Regions from separate parts of the Homo sapiens genome. Here region 2 is linked to region 1. Evidence: promoter capture Hi-C in 16 types of primary human blood cells and fetal thymus (Javierre and others, 2016). All regions are on one chromosome and are shown on one strand. The core of a region is centred on a gene start or on the middle of the fragment in contact, and the rest is flanking DNA. Distances in the headings are between cores, read along the strand shown.

Evidence for each region. The method cuts DNA at HindIII sites, captures the fragments that hold promoters and counts their contacts. A CHiCAGO score of 5 or more calls a contact.
Region 2: a contact is called between the fragment with the promoter of BTF3L4 here and the fragment with the promoter of CDCA8 in region 1, in 1 of 17 cell types (fetal thymus). The highest score is 6.7, in fetal thymus.

The regions. Positions count from the first base shown.
Region 1 is chr1:37,691,251-37,695,645 of GRCh38, reverse strand. It overlaps CDCA8 (cell division cycle associated 8), which reads right to left and starts at 3,130. Exons shown (of 10, transcript NM_001256875.2): 1 at 2,862-3,130; 2 at 2,613-2,741. The coding sequence starts at 2,955. It also overlaps a transcript of AIRIM not described here. RefSeq lists enhancers at 2,349-2,857, 2,858-3,368, 3,407-3,596, 3,369-3,878, 3,879-4,389 and silencers at 3,827-3,996, 4,017-4,076. The HindIII fragment of the contact is 4,527 bases long and covers 460-4,395 here.
Region 2 is chr1:52,054,584-52,059,096 of GRCh38, reverse strand. It overlaps BTF3L4 (basic transcription factor 3 like 4), which reads right to left and starts at 2,802. Exons shown (of 6, transcript NM_152265.5): 1 at 2,718-2,802. TXNDC12 (thioredoxin domain containing 12) reads left to right here and starts at 3,906. Exons shown (of 7, transcript NM_015913.4): 1 at 3,906-4,097. The coding sequence starts at 4,001. RefSeq lists enhancers at 1,887-2,598, 2,599-3,312 and silencers at 2,378-2,617, 3,478-3,882. The HindIII fragment of the contact is 3,174 bases long and covers 49-3,222 here.

The DNA.
Region 1 (4,395 bases), core at 1,881-4,380:
ACATCACCCCAAAAATTCTGCTTATTTTTCTTTTTAAAAAATATATTTTAAATTTTATTTATTTTTGAGACAGAGTCTTGCTCTGTCACCCAAGCTGGAGTGGAGTGGCGCCTCCTTGGCTGTCTCCTGGGCTCAACTGATCCTCCCACCTTGGCCTCCCAAGTAGCTGGGACTACAGGCATGCGCCACCACATTCGGCTAATTTTTGTGTTTTTTTGTAGAGATAGGGTTTCGCCAAGTTGTCCAGGTTGTCTTTTTTTTTTTTTTTTTTTTTTTTAAGTAGAGATGTGGTCTCCTGCTATGTTGCCCAGGCTGGTTTTGAACTCCTGGGGTCAAGTGATACTCCTGCCTTGGCCTCCCAAAGTGCTAGGATTATAGGCATGAATCCCCACCCTATGCCCTGCCCTCTGCTTATTTTTCTTTTTTAAAAATTTATTTTTAATTATTTTTTTTAAAGCTTAAAGATATGGTCTTGTTATGTTGCCCAGGCTGGTCTCAAATTCCTGGGCTCAAGTAATCCACCTGCCTTGGCCTCCCAAAGTGCTGGAATTCCAGGTGAGCCACTGTGCCCAGCCTGCTTATTTTTCTATCTCAGCAGTTTGCTGCAAAGTGTAGAGTTAGTTGCTCACCCTCATTATACCCAATAACTACTCAAAGCTGTTTAAATGTCCATCCCTGCCTTGGACTGAATTCCAGAGATGACATCCTTTGCTTCTGGCAAAAATCTAGCAGTCAATAGATGTACAGTAAACGTGTTGAATGAAAAGGTCTTTGTGAGATTTACATGTAGAATAAAAAGTTAGGTTAGAACCTCCTGCTAGAAACTCTCATAGTATCTTGTAAAACAGTTAAGATCTCAGGCTATGAAACCAGAATACCTGGGTTCAAACAGACTATCCCACTAACTAGCTTATGAGGCCTTGAGCAAAGTGTCCAATTTCTCTGTGCCTTAATCTTGTCATTTTGAAAAATAGGGATATTATTAGTTATGAAGAAAAATTAGTTAATGTATGTAAAACACTTGGTACAATGCCCATCTGGCATAGAAAGCACAATATGCTCACTGACCACTACTCTATTCTATCTCCTTTGTAGTACCTATACTTTTAATTACATAATTGTATGTGGATTTTTCTAATAGCTCTTTTCTACTAATCTGTATGTTCCTGAAGGCAGAGACAATGTCTGTTTTATTCCCTAGTGCATCTTTAGCACCTAGCACTGTGACTGACACATGCTCAGTATTTGGAGAAATAAGCAAATGAATGGCTTAATAAATAAAAGGGCAAGTCAAAAGGATCATTCAATGTCTAATATGTGAGCAGACCATGCATTTCTATCCAGGAAGGAGACTACATGCTGGATAGTTAATAATAAGGAAAACAGAAAAGGGCAACCCAGCAGAAAAGTACAGCCTCCTGCATTTCTCCGGACATTTAATAAGGGAGTGCAGAAACAGGCTGGGATTTTTCTCTGGCCAGGAAAACTGATGTGTCTTTTTTTTTGAGACGGAGTTTCACTCTTGTTGCCCAGGCTGGAGTGCAATGGCGTGCTCTCAGCTCACCGCAACCTCTGCCTCCCAGGTTCAAGCGATTGTCCTGCCTCAGCCTCCAGAGTAGCTGGGATTAGAGGTATGCGCCACCACGCCCGGCTAACTTTTTTGTATTTTTAGTAGAGACAGGGTTTCTCCATGTTGGTCAGGCTGGTCTCGAACTCCTGACCTCAGGTCATCTGCCCGCCTCAGCCTCCCAAAGTGCTGGGATTACAGGCGTGAGCCACCACGCCCAGCCTGATGCGCCCATTTTTAGGTTAGCAATTTCCATAAGCTGCAGAAGGAGCTGCTTCGGGTTATTCTTCTATCTGAGCTCTGGTTAACTAACCATGTCATTTATTCATTCATTTTTAAATGGGTAAAATATACATATATTTTTAAAAATACTATTTTCTGGCCGGGCGCAGTGGCTGACTCCTGTAATCCCAGCACTTTGGGAGGCCTATGTAGGTGGATCACTTGAGGTCAGGAGTTCGAGACCAGCCTGGCCAACATGGTGAAACCCCGTCTCTACTGAAAATACAAAAATCAGCGGGGCATGGTGGCAGGCGACCGTAATCCCAGCCACTCCAGAGGCTGAGGCAGGAGAATCACTTGAACCCAGAAGGTGGAGGTTGCAGTGAGCAGGGATCGCACCACTGCACTGCACTGCACTCCAGCCTGGGTGACAGAGTGAGACTCTGTTTAAAAAAAATTAAATAAATTTCCTGATGTGTGAAAATTATGTGAAATTCACATTTCAGTGTATCCATAACTAAAATTTTATTGGAATACAGCCCATCCATGCCCATTCACTACAGCTGTTTTGGACCTGTAAACAGCAGAGCTGAGTTGTCCGACAGAGACCGCCCCGCCCGCCGCCCCCCAACCACCCCCCCATTTTTCATAGAGAAAAATGAAGTAGGGAAGTGAGACAGAGAGTGAAAGGGTCTGCAATTTTCCATAAGTGGTCATGTCAGATCTCATTAAAAGGTGACATCTGAGCGAGCCCTTTCTGAAGGGTGTCACCTAACCCCAAGGGGCTCCTGGCCTCCGCCCAGGGAAGCTCTCCAGCTCTTACCGAAGTAGTCAAGCCAGTTCATCTCGCGCAGAGCCTTGGGGAGCCGCAGGATCTCGATGTTGTAGAGGTTATCCACCTCCTTGAGGAGGTTCTGCCTGTCTGACTCAATTTGCTTGATTCGTATTTCCACTGCGGGAGGGCAGAGCCGACAGGACACGGGTCACGGGCGGGCGAATCTGTGCAGCTCGTGTCCCCACCCGCCAGCATCCCGCGACCGCCCCAGGAGGCCGCGACGGCCTGGCCCCTTACCTTCACGGTCGAAGTCTTTCAGAAAGGAGGCGAGCTTCCGCCTCCGTAAGGAGTTGGTCTTGGCCACCCGACTACTGCCCTTCCTAGGAGCCATGGCGCTCGGCGGAGGCTGCGGGGAGCGGCGGAGATGGGGCAGGGAAGCAAGAAACTGGGTAGGGACGAGGAGGGCGGACGGGGACCACCCGAAGAAGTCGCCAGGCACGTACCTGCGGTCCCGAGACAAGGGCTGAGCAAAACCTCGCTGTGCCAGTGAGAGAGAGCGGCTCTACAGTCAACCGCCACCCAATTCAAACTCCACAGTCACAGGCTGACGAATGAGAAGCCGCCGTCCCACAACATCCAATCACAAGCAAGTTCCTGCCGGCCCAGGGTCTTCCGCCCAATGCGCCCCCTATAGCCTGAGTGCGACAGCGAGGCCGCCGCCGTCGCGGGTACTCCTGGGAGTTGTGGTCCAGGCTTGTTTCCCCGCCCTCCCCACCAACCCACCCGGCTCCGCCCTGGCCGGCTGCGAACTATACAAACTACTACTCCCGGCAGGCCTTGTGGCGGCTCTGCAATACCCCAAGCTCTGGAGGGCTGGGGGCCTACTAGGTCAGGTCGGCTGTAGGATTCTGCTCCAGGGTTGGCGGCTGCTTCTTTCTGGCCTGGCTGCCACTGAGTAGCCGAGGGGCCGCCGTGACCCTCTGACTGATTGACTGGCTGGCTGCCTACGTCGGCGCTCCTCAGGGCCCCAAGCTCCTCAGGCCGAACTTCGGGCAAGTGGCGGGTCGGCAGAGACAGAGCAGCCCCGGCAGGGTTTGACAGAGCAAGGGGGACGGAATGATAGAGGAGCAGGGCAGGGGTGCAGGCTTTGGGGGGGGCGCGCTATCCCGCGGCCAGTCTGGGCAGCGAGTGGGGGGAACCCTGTCGTTCCTCGCTCCCCCGCGGGCCGGCCACTCCCGCCCAGTTCGCGTGTTGGCGCCTCGACTGGGTGCGCAGCGCGGGGCTGCGACTTCAGGTGCAAGTAGTGGCGCTTGGCAGCTGGCCACACGGTGACTGCAGCATGAGCCGCGGCCACCAGGCTCCAGGGAGCCCAGGGCAGGAGGCAGCTCTGGGTGTCGTGGCCGTGGGCCTGGGAATGGGCGTGTAGACGGCGAGCCCCGCCGAGCCGCGGTCCTGTCGGAGGTGCTAACTGTGCATCTTGGTATCTGCCCACGGCCACAGGGTTGGATTGCTCAAGAGTTGTGCTGAGACCCAGAAGGCTAGAGGCTAGTTTCGAAGCTGTAGCTCAGGCTGAGTCTCAAGGCGGGCGGCGACTGGACGGCCAGACCGGCGAGCTCTTGACGGGTTTGTGGCCTGATTGTTTGGATTTGGTGCTTTTCACCTGTGGATGCGGTCTGAAGCCATGTCAGAGGGGTTGTGTTTAAGCGTGCATGTTATAGGCTATGGGAGTGATAATCTTGCCTCTCCCCCTCTGAGTTGAGGAACAATCGAAGAAATAAGCAAAGGTGCCAAGCAGGCTCCTGATGGGCACCAGCGAGCTTGGGGACAGAGC
Region 2 (4,513 bases), core at 1,553-4,052, about 14 Mb before region 1:
AGTAATAAATGTTGGGGGGGGGCAGAGAGGAGACTCCTAAAACAAGCTTTTTAAAGTTAATCTTGATTTTGAAGATTCTAAAATTATAGTCATGAATCTAGTCTGGTCAGTGATAATCCCACTAAGAAAAAAACATTCTTAAGTTTATAATGGGTCATCACATTCCACATTACATAAACAAAGAAAAGCCAAATTCAGGCCCGGCACGGTGGCTCACGCCTGTAATCCCAGCACTTTGGGAGGCCGAGGCGGATGGATCACCTGAGGTCGGGAGTTCGAGGCCAGCCTGACCAACATGGAGAAACCTGTCTTTACTAAAAATACAAAATTAGCCGGGCGTGGTGGCACATGCCTGTAATCCCAGCTACTCAGAAGGCTGAGGCAGGAGAATCGCCTGAACCCGGGAGGCGGAGGTTGCGGTGAGCCAAGATCATGCCATTGCACTCCAGCCTGAGCAACAAGAGCGAAACTCCGTCTCAAAAAAAAAAAAAAGCCAAATTAAAAGTCTTGTTTTACTTGTTCTGCAGATCAACAAATCATTACTGAGATGTGAGGGAGGGAATAAGGGACTAGGTTGTTATCAAATCTTCTTTGGCCAATTCTCTAAACCCTGTATAGTCATCATTCACATGAAAAAAATACTGTTTGCTTCATTTGAGAGATTAAAAAAAGCAGCATCAAAGACTATATAATTACTAACCATTTTGTACTTTGACACTATCCTTAGGCAATAACCTATATATCTATCTCTTCTTTAAGGCTAATGTCCAGATCCCAAATAATATTTAGAATTTATGATTCTTCACTCTGCTCAGCGCTGTATCACAATGCTGAAGCAGCTAAAAACACTTTTATAGGAGGAAGTGTGTTTAGAGTCCAAAACAAGAAGTCTTAAATGTGTGCCAATCTTAGCTCTGCCATAGACTTAAATTTGATGACTTAAATCCCAATTCCTATGCTCAAATATCCACAGAAAAGGACCAACATTCACTTTTCTCAAAGGAATGTGGCCATGAGAGTGTAGTGAACTAACAAAGAGCCAAAGGAATTTATTGCAAAAAAAAAGGGGCTAAGGAAAAACATTAGACCTAGATACTTGGTAAACCCTTTGGGATTCTTCTGCATTTTGAAGTAACAATTCCCAAGAGAACAGACAGAGGTTGGGATGCCAAGACAAAGTCTTGACTTGTTTGAAATAAAAGCAAGAACAAAATTAACTCTTCAAATCAAGGTATAGATGAAAGAACAGATTCCATTCCAGGTGGTCAGGACAACAGAATTGAGAAATTTTGTTCCTAAGGAGTATCTCAGAGAAAAATGATTTTAGGGAGACTGAGAGCTCAAGGCAGTAGGGGAGGAACAAGAGTAGTCTTTTGTTTCTTGGCAAGTTGTGGTGTGTGGAATTCAAGTAGGAAAGAGGACTGGACTCAGTCTATGCGATGTCAAGCTCAGAATCTGGAGTAGACCTCCAAGATCACCTGGTTTAATTCTCTATTCTCAATCAACCTCTACTTTATTGCACCCATCATTCCTATCTGTGATGTCATCTCAACATCTGCTAGCACCAGCAAAGTATAAATTACAAACGAAACAGTTCCCTCCCTCCCATCTTAATAGATTAGGAAATAAGGGCCCAGAAGGGAGAAGTCCCTTCCTAGGCCCAAAAGGGAGAAGTAACTTCCTAAAGCCACATGATTAATGAGTTCTTCCTTGGGGATTCCAGGATCTTTTAGCACTGTTCTCAAGGACTCAAGAAAGGGTGTAAACAGGTTTATATTTATTAAGTGCCTAAGTTAGAAGCATTGTGGTAGGCACTTTCACATACATCATGTTTACACAGAGATAAAAATAATTGCAACCTTGAGTCCTGACTTTTTATTATGTAGGGTTTCTCTAAGACAAGCACAGGCTTTGGAATCAGAAAGACCAAGGTTCTACCAGTTGGGAAAGGTATTTTTCTTCTCTGAACTTGTATTCCTCCTGCATTTGGAAAGGTATAACACCACGTACTTCACAGGGTTGTTTTGAGGGTTAAAACATTATCAACCACAGGGAATGGTTCACAGAAGATACACAGTTACTGGTAACTATTGTTACCACTCCCGAGGGGACAACTATGGTAAACTGCAAGAATGTGGGAACGGAAGTTGAAACCGCCATTCACTAGCTGTGCAACACTGAGCCTGTCGGTCAGCAGGCAGTGGGAGGGGGGTTATAAAGATGGGCAAGGGACGCCGACTTGTAAACAAACACTGCCATTACAAGGTGAAGAGTGCTGTAACTGAGTTCGGTTCCCTGGACTCAAGGGCGGGAAGTGGTAACCTCAGCTTCCCTATCTGTAGACTGGGAGCATCAAATGAGATGACAACAGAGAGCCTGTATAAAGCTCAAAGCACACAACACTGCTGTTGTGAGCAAGGAGTAATGGAACAGAGGAGGGGCGTCCACCTGCCTCCTGGGACAGGGTCTGGGCGGCAACAGGGCGGGCCCGCTCGCTCCCACAGGGGGCGGTGGTGCTGGGGACCTTCCCACAGGTGCCGACCCCCAGCTGCGCCGCCGGTAACCGACAGGCCAAGCCAGCCGCCTCCGCCCCCGCTCGCCGCACCACGGCGGAAGTGGCAGCCTGAGCGGTTGGCGGGTGTCGGAAGGGGAGGGCGGGGGGAGACCGTGCGCAGCGGCCTATGGCCGTGAAGTGGCGGGACCGCCGGGGGTCTCACCTGAAGCAGGGAGGGTCCTCCAACACCAGCACGCGGCAAGAGAAAGATGGCTGCCTCAGCCGAGACAGAGAAAGACGACGGCGGCGGCGGCGGCGGCGGGAGCAGATCCACGTGATACAGCCGACCCCGCCTCTCCCTCTCCGGGGCAGCCTATCCCGGGAGCGAACATCTGAACTCCAACGCCCCGCCTGCTTTGCGCATCCCTCTTAGTGCTAGTGGCGGCAGGTGCAGGTGGCCGCGCGGCATCCTGGGGCTTGCAGTCTCCCGAGCGTTCTGTTGTGTCCCTGCCTACAATTTTAGGGAACCTAATAAAAGGGTGGTCGGTATGTTTTTATTTGGGTGTGTACTTTTGTTAGGTCGCTTTTTCGCTATGCATTAAGTACGGACTTTAGGACTCAACTAGTACCAGGAAGAAAAAGACCGGACATTTTCACCTGTTTGTTATACAGCGAAGGGGAAAAATTGGGAAGAAATCCTCAAGCTACAAGAAAAATAACCAGAAGCTTTACACTTTAGCCTGCAGTGACTTATATCCTGGTGTCCTAAGTCCACCTAAGTCAGTTTTGCAATAAGAGGTCCCAAGTTTGGTTTTCTTGGAGCTTGCATCAGTTGGTTGCATCATCCCTGAGTAGAAGATTTGCGGTTGCAAGGAAAAATAAGGTACAGAGCTTCTCCAGCGGGAAAGTGCATGTCTGCACGGCACGAGCCCACGCACCGCAGAACAGGCTTGCCAGGTCTCCTCAGAGACCCTCGCAGGAACCTAACAATGAAATCCAGTTGTCCAGTCTTGATTTGTGGAGGGGTAAGGAGAATCCGAGGCCAGTGGGCAATCCGCCCACTGTTGGGAGCGACTGACCTCACGAATCAATAATTTGCTTTTGACTAGGAAGTGCAGCGGTTCTTGGGGGGAGGGGCTGGACTGGGTGGCGGACGCGAGGAGCAACGGTTCTCCCGAACCTCTCCCCCGCCCCTACTATCTTGGCCTACATTTTCCCGCTCCGTCCCGGGACCTGGACACCCAGAATCCACGAAAAGCAACTCGCGCTCGAGAACAGCTCTCGTACCCTTCTACGTGATCTGCACCTTTAAGCTCACTCCATCCCAAACCGGACCCCGGAGGCACCACCCACATCCGTCTAACATCACTTCCTTCAGAGTTTGAAAAAAAAAAATCTGGGAAGTAGAGGTGTTGTGCTGAGCGGCGCTCGGCGAACTGTGTGGACCGTCTGCTGGGACTCCGGCCCTGCGTCCGCTCAGCCCCGTGGCCCCGCGCACCTACTGCCATGGAGACGCGGCCTCGTCTCGGGGCCACCTGTTTGCTGGGCTTCAGTTTCCTGCTCCTCGTCATCTCTTCTGATGGACATAATGGGCTTGGAAAGGGTCAGACCGCGTTCTTATCTTCTCTTTACTGATCTTTACTATACTGATCCCAGTATAATCTCTTCTTGCCCTAGCACCGTTCCCCTCCCATTCTAACTCTTAGGCCACTCCAGATTTCTTTTTATCTTCCCCAACCGCTCCTGGAGTTTGAAGATTTCTTGGGGTAGAGAGTAGCGGGTCTGGGGAATGGAGAAGTTGTACTTGAGGCCTCTCTAAATTATTGGATTGGGGGGAAGGAATGGCCCGTAAATTAAGGAAAGCATGTTAAGAGCCCAGCATAGTGCCTAGCACTTGGGAGGTCCTGAGGAACGGTCACCTTCCCACCTGGGAGAAATAGAGCCGTTGGGGACCTGCATATGCAGAGGACCCTGTTCTGGGTCTGAAGATTTCTCTCGTTACTTCTTCCGCGAAGAGCT